Regions from separate parts of the Homo sapiens genome. Here region 2 is linked to region 1. The links are contacts of gene promoters, found by promoter capture Hi-C in human tissues and cell types (Jung and others, 2019). All regions are on one chromosome and are shown on one strand. Each heading gives the region's core, a stretch centred on a gene start or on the middle of the fragment in contact. The rest is flanking DNA. Distances are from core to core; before and after follow the strand shown. Region 1 holds the start of FAM53B (family with sequence similarity 53 member B). Region 2 holds the start of CTBP2 (C-terminal binding protein 2).

Evidence for each region. Contacts are between HindIII fragments. The study calls those that stand out against the background at their distance.
Region 2: a contact is called between the fragment with the promoter of CTBP2 here and the fragment with the promoter of FAM53B in region 1, in 1 of the 25 tissues and cell types used here (hippocampus).

Annotation. Positions count from the first base shown.
Region 1 is chr10:124,741,321-124,746,594 of GRCh38, reverse strand. FAM53B (family with sequence similarity 53 member B) reads left to right here and starts at 2,217. Exons shown (of 5, transcript NM_014661.4): 1 at 2,217-2,582. RefSeq lists silencers at 1,979-2,118, 2,249-2,298, 2,319-2,428, 2,479-2,638, 2,959-3,168 and 1 more and an enhancer at 5,216-5,274. The HindIII fragment of the contact is 11,231 bases long and covers 1-5,274 here.
Region 2 is chr10:125,159,130-125,164,042 of GRCh38, reverse strand. CTBP2 (C-terminal binding protein 2) reads left to right here and starts at 3,480. Exons shown (of 11, transcript NM_001329.4): 1 at 3,480-3,724. RefSeq lists an enhancer at 2,100-2,709. The HindIII fragment of the contact is 19,174 bases long and covers 1-4,913 here.

The sequences.
Region 1 (5,274 bases), core at 968-3,467:
CCTGCATTTTATATTTCCCAGGGTGTTCTCCGGCTTAATCAGGTTAGCGTTGGTTGGTGATAATGGAAAAGTTACAAGTAATAGTTTTTAGATTATTTATGGATTTATTCCTAAATTGGCCTATGAATTTGCATTTAGGTGTCTGGTTGTGTGCAAAATCTGGTTTTGACCATTTTGGATTGAACAAAGATAGACAGTTTAGCTCCATGTCCCCACCCCATTGCAGCTTTTACATAGCTTTAAATCTAGAGTTCTACATTTTTAGCTACTCTTCTGAATTGAGCAGAACTCTAATATAACAACAACCTTTTGGGTAGAATTTTTTCTTAGTAAAGAACTATGGAGCTGAGCACTAAGAAGTGAGGATGTTTTATAATATAGCTGTAGGATTATTATATCATGTGGGAAGAACCTATAGTATGGAAGGTTAAGTGTGACACAGGTCTTAATGTATGCATATCTTTTTAGCCTTTGGAGATACAAATCTAGAAAATGAGAAGTAACTATTTATTGGTTAATAGCATAACTTCTTAAGCAAGTATATTCTAGACAGCCTCAAGAAAGCCTCAGAACCAGAAAAACAGGCTGCTTTAGGTTGGAAAGGAGGTGTTACAGCAGAGGAACTGGCCATGACCACCATCCTTGGAATGTGAAACGCAAATCATCCTGAAAGCAACAAGAATAATGGTTGTAATAATTGTTTCCAGGCCTGGGACCCTGCATCTTGTTTTTTAAGTTGACCTGATGAACTAGTAATTGTAGGAATAAACTGAATGTTTGCCAGCAGGAGTCACTCTAGGCTTCCTAATAAAACGTTAGTAAATTAAACTCTGTCCTTAAAGCTCTGAAAGGCTGAGGTGATTGTGTGATATCAGATGGCTTTAGGGAAACACTGACTCTTTTCGTTAAGCATAGCAGCATTCTTAGATTATTCCTTGGGCCTTCTTTTGTTCACCATCGGTTCTTGGATCTTGTTCCTTTCAAGATTGGTCCTTAATGCATTTTTAAAAAGCAACGTATATGGGTAAGGATATCAATATCTTAGTATGCTGTATTCTGTATGTTAGCTCATTTTGGCTTTCTAGGATGAACTGACTCTATCCCACATCATGTAACTTGAAATGAATAGACTCATATCCTTTCCACTGATTGCTGTCCATTCTAATCATGCAGCAGAACTCAGTGGAGCGAGCTGTAGTGTGAAAGGAGATGTCAGTTCATGCTTTTCTGAAAAGAATGGGTCCGGTGTGATGATATTCTGAAATATTTCAGCAATAGCCATGAAATATAATAGTTTCCCAAGCACACAAAGCTCAAGAAGTTAATTGTTCATTTATGTTTGATACTGGGATTGAAACATTGGATTAAAACCAATTAAATGTTCCTAGAAGCAACAGAAAAAGTTTCCTTATTTATGAATAGAACCATTCAAATGGCGCAGACACAATCCATGTAAAGTAATGAGGTGTTTTGTTTTTTTGGCAAAGGAGAACACAAAACAGGCATAGGGAGTTTTAAAAAAACTTCTCTTTAAAAATCGCTTTTTGGATACAAGGTCAATAAAATAACATACACCAGTAGGAAGGAGTAATGGGAAATCTAGGGCTTCACAAGGAAAACAATCCCCCTCCCCCAGGTGAGCAGCACAATGAAAATACTCTGCTTATTCTATCAGGGTTACATTCCTGAACTTAAGTCAACATCCTAAGTTACAGAACTAAACATGCTCTGCCTCTGCTTAGCAACCACAAATCCTTCCTTCGCCAGTTGCATGTATTTTGGATGTGGCTTCTGAAGTACACAGTCACAGCGCCCCGAGTTAGGAAATTTGCGCTTTATTTTCCCAAAGTGTGACAACACTTTAAGGTCCCCCCTCCCCGACCCCACCCGCCCGCTGTCCTGCACGCCACTGAAGTGATCGTTTCTTTTGAACCTCGGCATCTAACAACCCGGAAGCTGGACGCCTGAAGCCTATGCGGCCCAGCGTTTTCATCCCGGCTCGTGCTGGGGGCGGGGAGAGAAGCCCGTAGGGCCTCTGGCGCGGGGCCCGGGCAGCCGCGGTGGCGCGGCCCAGGCCCGGGGCCACTTCCCGCGTCCCGGGGCCTCGCAGGCGCGAGCGCGGCGAGCGGCGCGCGGCTGAGCCCGCAGGACGCCCTCTAGCCCCGCCGGCGGCGCGCCGCGAGTCCCTCACTCCCCGCCCATCGGCGGCTGCGCGCACTGCACACTCGCCTGCCGCCGCCGCCGCACGCCGCCTGCCTCCTGCACGCCGCCGCCGCGCCTAGCGCCCGGGCCCGCGACACCGCCCGCTAAGCGCCGGGCCGAGTTCACGCAGCCGCGGTCTGGCGGCTCCGCGGCGGCGGCGGGTGCGGGCGGCCTGGCCGGTGCCGGTTAAAGGGACGAGTTGCAAACACTTCAGGAAGTGACAAGTCGATTTCCTCCTCCCCGGGAGTCGCTCGTACAAAGCGCTCGGCGCCGGCAGGCGAGCGTGCGCGCGGCGGACGCGCGGCGGGCACCCCGGACGACTTGGCGAGCGCTGGCGGTGACGGCGCGGGGTCCGCGCCCGGAGCGCCCCGCCGCGCACAGTAAGCGACCCGGGGCCGGGCGGCGGCGGCGGTGGCCGGGGGGCTGGCCCCGAGCGAGGTCCGGGCCGTGTGCGTCCCGGCCGCTGGCTGGAGGGAGCCCGGCTCGCGTGCGCAATGGGCTTGCCTTTTTTTTTTCTTTTTTCCTAATGTTGCTGGTTTCCTTTTTTTCTGCCTTGTTTCGCCTTTGGGTTGGGTCGGGCGGTTTCTCCGGGCGCTCGGTCTCGCCCCTGATGCAGGCGTGAGACTTGTCAGAGCACAGGCATGGGGAAGAACAAGCCTGGCTGCGGCGGAAAAGTCTGCGCTCCCCAGGCCAGGGCGGGCGGGCGCGGGGACTGCTGCGCCCGGGGGTGTCCTCTCCGCGTCTCAACTTGAGCCCTGACTAGCCGCTGCGGAGGAGGCGCGGAGTCTCGGGAGCCGGGCGGCCCCATTCGCCCCGAAGTTCCCGCATCGTTTGCAGACAACTCTTTTGTTCGCGGAAGTTTGCACCCGCCACCCCCGGGGTGCGGGAGCGAGGCGGCGGGCTCCGCTGCTGCTGGACTGTCCGGGGCGGTCAGGATGGGGGTGAGGGGGCATTCTGTCCCGGGCGGGGGAAGCCCGCGGGGAGGCCACCGCTGGGGCTTGCGGAGTGGGGGCGTCCGCGCCGGCGTGGCTTTTGCACATGGCGAGAAGGGCCGTCCGGCACAGGCACACTGGTCGAGTCACATTTTTGCTAGTCTTGGATTTTGCAAGCCCGTGGGAGTCAGGTTCCCCGCTCAGGGTTTCTCTTGGGGCAGAGACGAAAGAAACGAGGACACCCAGAATCCGGGGAGGGTTTGCGGTTTGTGTTGTCCCAAGTGTGTTCTCGCTCCCCCCGCCCCCCCACCTTGTCCCCCAGCCCCCAGCTCTCCACCCCCATTTTCGGACTTGGGGAACAATGCTTGTAGTACGGGCCGGGGCGCCGCAGCAGCGACGAACCGCGCGGACAGGTTTGCCCGGGTCCCTCGCGTTCGGACGCCCCCTGAAGCCGAGCTCCTTCCATCTGACCGCCCGGGCTCATTAACACGTACTGTACTTAGGACGATGGTGAACAAAGAAAAGCTCTTTGCAGCGTTTGATGAATGGGATTCTGCCTCCTATAGGCCACACTCCGAGTCTTCCATACGGTACAATCTCCGGACTCGGTGGTGTTAGGAAAGTGGCCCCCGGAATGGCTTGCATTCCGGGTCTGGGATCCTGGGGTGGGCATTTGTGCCGTCGCCTTCGCCGCCGCGCTCGCCTTGCAGGAGCGGGTGCAGATGGAGCCAGGCTGACGGTTGTTCAACAGGAACAAATGTTTGTTCAATTGTTGGATGGTGGAGAAAAGGGACTGTTTCCTATTGACTGCTGCAGGAGTTGGAATGGCATTGTTTATTGGCCTGGGAAGCCAGGCAAGCGTCTTGTGCTGCTTACAACATATTAGCAGACTTCCAAATGACATGCTAGCATATGTGTTCCCAGCAGTCCCCACCGGCTGGCAGGGAGATTCCTCCTTGCTCCAGATCCTGGACTCGTTTAAAAGATGCCACCTGGTTTGAGGACTTGGGAAGGAATGGAGTCAGCCGACCAGGTGAAACTCACTGTTCCTTATTAGGCCAGGTTTTTGTTTCATTTTAATTTATCTATTTAAGAGTAACTTGTGTCAGTTACAGTTTTGATATTGAATTGCAGGTCTACAGGGTCCCCTCCCCCGCCTCTAGCTGTGGACTACAGAAACAGCTACTTGTCCCAGTTGATAGTCCCATTCAGTGGGAGAAGGTTTGGCTCAGGATTGGTAGCCCTTGACTCTGTGTCTGCACTTGGCTGTCACCCATCATGCGACCTGGGAGTCTGCCGATCCAGCTTCCAGGCGCTTTTTCAGGTTAAAAAGCTAAGGAGAGGCGTGGGGAAGGCCTGTATTTTTTTCTTCCAAACGTTCCTTCAGAGAACGAGGCGATTTAAATTCAAATAATGTTGCCCAACGACTTCCTATTTTCTTCTGAGAAGGTGAGATTCATGTGCAGTCATTTTGATATCAAAGACAAGTTTTTAAATAGAAACTAGCAACCTCACTGCTGCAGAAGTGGACTTGAATGTTCCAGTCTTCTCAGGACAAAGTAGAGAGCATTCCACTGTCTTGGTTCATAATGTTTTAAATCAGTTTCCCTCTTCTCTTTTCAACGTGGGGTATGTTGCACATAGCATTTTGAAAGTACGCAAAGTTCTTTTGGAAAGAGCTTTATGATACCTTATTGTCACCGTGGTGGTTACGCTTAATTGACATTTTATGGGAAGTCCTGGTATTATTTCCTGGGCTCTTTCTGTTTCCATCTTTTAGTCTTTCTCTTTCCCCTTATATATTCTCTCACTGCCCCGCTAGCCTCTCCATCCTCTCTACAGAAGCCTAGTGGGCTTGGGTTCCTTTAAGCGGGTCCAGTGAGCAGGCGCCTGACCCTTGATTGAAGCTCAGGAAGGGCCAGCCTGCTCTCCTCCCCTTTTGGAGGCCAGAGAGGAGAGAGCTGTGTTTAAATATTAGGAGCTGGCAGCAGGGGACGCTGCGGAGCTCTTTTAAAAAGCACACTCTTCTCACCCACCGCTCGATGCCTTGGGCCCTGAAGACTGAGTTCTGGGCCCACCTTCAGATTGTTCAGTTGATGTTTTATTTGGGCAGCGTGACTTTCTGCAGTTAAATTGCGCA
Region 2 (4,913 bases), core at 2,231-4,730, 420 kb before region 1:
AAGTAGTAACTTATCGTGGTTTTGATTTGCATGTCTCTAATGACCAGTGAGGCCAACCATCTTTTCATGTGCTTACTGGCCGTTGGCCATTTGTCTACCTTCCTTGGAGAAATGCCTATTGAGTCTTTGGCCATTTTTGAATTGGGTTTTTTGTTTGCAACATCTTAAAAAAAATAGTATGAAATAATTCACATGTTGGGGGCAAATGAGCTCCATATTTTAAAATGCAGGTAAAGTGAAGTGAGAAATACTTTTCAGCTCTCAGGATGCCTTGCTTTTAATGTCTTCAAAACAAATAATATATTAATAATACTTTCTCGGCCGGGCACAGTGGCTCACGCCGGTAATCCCAGCACTTTGGGAGGCCAAGGCAGGCGGATCACAAGGTCAGGAGATAGAGACCATCCTGGCTAACACGGTGAAACCCTGTCTGTACTAAAAATACAAAAAAAAAAATTAGCCGGGCATGGTGGCGGGCGCCTGTAGTCCCAGCTACTTGGGAGGCCGAGGCAGGAGAATGGCTTGAACCCGGGGGGCGAAGCTTGCAGTGAGCAGAGATCGCGCCACTGCACGCCAGCCGGTGACAGACTGAGACTCCGTCTCAATAATAATAATAATAATTATACTTTCTCTTTTTTTTTTCTTGAGACGGAGTTTCGCTCTGTCGCCCAGGCTGGAATGCAGTGGTGCAATCTTGGCTCACTGCAACCTCCACCTCCCTGGTTCAAGCGATTCTGCTGCCTCAGCCTCCCGAGTAGCTGGGATTACAGGCATGCGCCACCAGGCCTAGCTAATTTTTGTATTTTTTTTTTTTTAGTAGAGACGGGGTTTCACCATGTTGGCCAGGATGGTCTTGATCTCCTGACTTCGTGTTCTGCCCCGCCTTGGCCTCCCAAAGTGCTGGGATAACAGGCGTGAGCCACCGTGCCCGGCCAAGAACATGTTAGTAATACTTTCTAAGTCAGAATTCAAATTTATAGAACACGTGAAAGTGAAGGAGTGATATGGAAAATCAGGCTTTTTGTGGTTTCTTCCTGAGAAAAGAAGACCACTCAGAACCAAAGACTTCTGTGAAATAAGGAAGCAGAAAATCTTTATTTGTAGTTCTTATAGTTTATGCCTAAGAAACTCCGAAGAACAGGTACTGGTAACCCGGTAGCCTGGCGGTGGCCGCGGTTTGTTTACAGCCAAAAACTAGCTGAGGCGCCATGCCCTTGAGGCAAAACTGCTGAAGAGAGAAGCACCCTGAAGATCAGTTTGTGGAGATCCAGGGTTGCCAGAAGACGAGACAACCGTGATTGCATGTGCGGAGGTTCCTCGATGGAAGCGCAGCCCGGCGCGCCCCTCAGCTGGCCTGGCCAGGCCCTATGAAGGTCACGCGAAAACCCTGCTGCGGGCTTCTTAGCGACCGCATTACGTGGACTAGCGGGCAAGAAAAGCCTGGTCGGCGCTGCCCTCACAGGTAGGCGGTCTTCAATCACGTTTTAAAATCTTGTTGAGTGATTAAGCAATCTTCGATAGTCCCGGCCCCTCCACTGCAGGCCGCTCAGGCCGCAACGCACCTGGTGCGCTTTGGCAAACAAGCCCCGCGGCGGGCTGGGGCAGGATTTAAGAAATGTTTAATGAAGACTGGGAGGCCTGGAGCAACGCTCTTTGGGATGCAGAAAAGGGTCGTGCAGCTCGGTGGCCTCTCCTCCGGCCCCCTGGCCCTGGCTGTAAGTTTCCTCGGCTCTGCAGGGCGCGGGGCACTCAGGGATGGAGGAGACCACACCGCGCGGCTGGGTTCGCGGAATGGCGGTCCCTGCGGCCTCCAAAGGCGGGACCTCAGACCCCTCCCACTCCTTTCCTGCTCGACATCTCAATCCAGCTCCTAATATCTCAATAGGGTTTTTAAACAAATCGATCCTAAGGGCTCAGTTCAGCCCACCCAGGGATTCTTGGAGGACGCACGCCGAACTCAGGGTAGTGAGAAGAGTTTGGGGGGCCCTGGGGCGCAGGGAGAAGACCCCACACTCCACGGCCACCAGCTCCCTTCCGGAGACGGCGCTCGGACGTCGCGGGTCACGGGCGGGGAATTTAGCCCAGGTGCTCGTTGGGCCGCGAGCGGCCGCTGGGCCTGGATTCCCAGGCTCGCTGTGCAGACTCCAACCTTGAGACGTCAGGACGGCGTGGGCTCCGGGCCGCCGCGCAAGCCCAGGACCCCGAGTCGCGGGCCCCCACGCCGCAGCGCGCCTCCCTCCTCGAGACCCGGGGCTCCGACCCAACACAGGGCTTCTCAAATGCCCCGGCGAGATCCAGGCAGCAAGAGGGAACCTTTTTTTTTTTTTTCAATGTGTAAGAATGTTTTGCTTCTTTTAGGGCACAGCACTGCTGCAACTTGCAGCACAGAGGGCCCTTCCCTGCGCACCCACAGCGGTCGCCGCCTCTCCGGCACGGTCTCCCGGATCTGGATTTGGGGAGCGCAAGTGCCCCCTGTGGCCGGCCCGCGCCTGACCCCGCGGGCCTGAGAAGGCAGAAGCGGCCGGTGCGGGGCACCAGGAGGAAGTTGGAGCCCGGGGGCCGGGAAGGGGGCTGGTTGGCGCCGCTGGCTGGGCGGGGCCCCATGGGACCGGGGCCACCCGGGGCTCGCGTTCCCCCACGTGGCCGGCTGCCCGGTACCCCACGTGGAAGGGGCGGAGGAGGATGAAGGGCCAGGGGAGCAGCGGACCCCGAGCCACCGCGACAGGACCTCGGCCCCTGCCACCGAGGCCCCCGCGCCTCCCGAGGGCCTCCCGGGCGGGGCCGGGCTAGGGAGTGCCCGCCGCGCCCGGCCCCTGGCCCTCCCGCCCGCCGCGCTTGTGTGCACTTTCGCGGAGCCACTAATCCCCCGAGAGAGCCGATTTGTAGTGAGGAGTATCTGAAGGGGGCGAGGCCGGCCCATGTGGGGTTGTGTCATTGGTTTGCAAAAAGAGACCCCGCCTTTGCCCCCCCCCCCCAAAAACAGGAGCGAGGAGTGAGCGAGCGGCGACCCTCACCTCGCCTCCCGCCTAGCTCCTGCGCAGCCAGCGGGTACCGGGAGCTGCGGCCAGCGCCGCTTCTTTCCTTTCCTTTTCTCTCCGTTTTCCTTCTCCTTCCCCGGAGGAGAAAACAAATAAAGAAGAGCAAATAGCCGGGAGGCGCTCGGCATCCAGGACGTTCCCTCCCCCGATCCAAGTTGGAATTAGCATCCTCTCGGGGGTGAGCGCGGCGCGGGGCGGGCCCGGGCCGGGGACCCCCAGCGCAGCCCCCTCTCGGCGGGCGGGAGGGCGCGGGGCCGGGACGCGGGGGGAATTGGGAACCGGGTGGGCGGAGGAAGGGGGTGGGGTGGGTGGGGAAGTAGGAAGAGGCTCGGCGGCGAGGGGAGGAGGTGGAAGGGAAGGGAGGGGTAGGGTGGGGAGGGGAGGGGAGCGGAGGGAGGGTGGGGAGGGCGGGAGGGGGAGGGGCGGGGAGCTGGAGAGATTAAGTTTTTGTGTGTGTGTCCCTGTGTGCGTGTGTCATTTTAAGGTGGCTCGGGAGCGGCCCGGAGGAGCCGGCGGCGGCCCGAGGAGCGAGGGACCGAACCGGGAGCCATGCCGCGCTGAGGGGGGGCCGCACAGCCGCCGCCACCGCCACCGCCGCCGGGTGGGGTGGGAGGGGCGGGAGACGCCGCCGCCGCCGCCTCCAGGGTGGGCGCCTTTCGCCGTGGACGCCGACCGTCCGGGACGAGGTAAGGGGGGCCCCGGGGGAGGGCTGGGGCCGCCGCCGCCCCCGCCTCACCTGCGGCCGCGGGCTGGGGGCGCCGCGCCCGCGCCTCACTGCGCCACTCAGGGAGGAGGAGGAGGAGGAGGAAGAGGGCGAAGGACGCGGAGCCGGCATCCGAGGACATCTTTGGTCCGTGCCCCCGGCCTCGTGTCCCCCCTCGGCGCCCGGGGGTGGACGCTGGCTCGGGGGTCCCCGCCCGCCCCCGCCACCGATTGCGCCCGCTGGCCGCCGTTTGCGCCAGGATTTTTGTTGTTGTGATGAGAGTTGATGAATGCGAAGTAGGCGGTCACCTTCCTTCCCATCAGGGTTGAAAAAAAAAAAAAAAGAAACCCCGAGCGCGGCGGCGTCCGGAGGGCAGCGGCGGCGGCGGCGGCGGCGTCTCGGCGACGGTTCCCTGGGCGCCCCCGGCTCCTGCTCCCTGAGCCCGGTGGGTGCGCGCCCGGGGGCCGCCGGCGACCCAGGCCGAGCGCGCGACGCGCCGCGGGGACAATACGGCCGGATCTCCGGGGAACAGGAGTCCGAGCGCGCCGGGGTGCGGCGGGCCTTGCGCCTACGAGGCGAGGGTGGGGGGGGCGCGGAGAAGAGGGGTTCCGTGGGGAAGTCGGGGCGTGAGCGGCTCTCGGTCCCCAGGGGCGCTGCCCCTGCCGGCGGGGGATCCCGCGCGGCTCCCCGGGAGCGCAAGTGAAAGACGGGAAAGGAGGCGAAGTGGAACCCTTTTGTTTTGCCGGCCCCGCATTGTTGGCTCCTCCGGGCAGCCGGGCCACATCTGCTGCCGCTGCCGCCGCCGCCACTGCCGCGCGGGGCTCGGCCCGCCAAAGTCGCGGCGGGGCGGGGGGCCTGGGCGGGCCGGGCGGCGGGCGCGGGCGGGGGCCGGGCGGGCCGGGCATTTCCTCTGCCCGGCCGCGCTCCCGCGGGCACCACTTCCTCCTCGCCCGCCGCCGCCGGGAGCCCGGCCCGCCCGCCTCCCCCACCTTCCCCGCCCGGGCCGCACTTTTCGGGTGGGGCGAATCAAAAAGAAAAAGTTTAGCAGGAGGGGCTGGCTAGGGCGCGCCCCGGGCGGCAGGGACCCGGTGCGGCGCAGGGACAGCCGGGCCGCCGCGGTTCCTCCTCCTCCCAGCCCTCCGCGGCGCCGGACGGCCCCGCGCGGCCGAGGG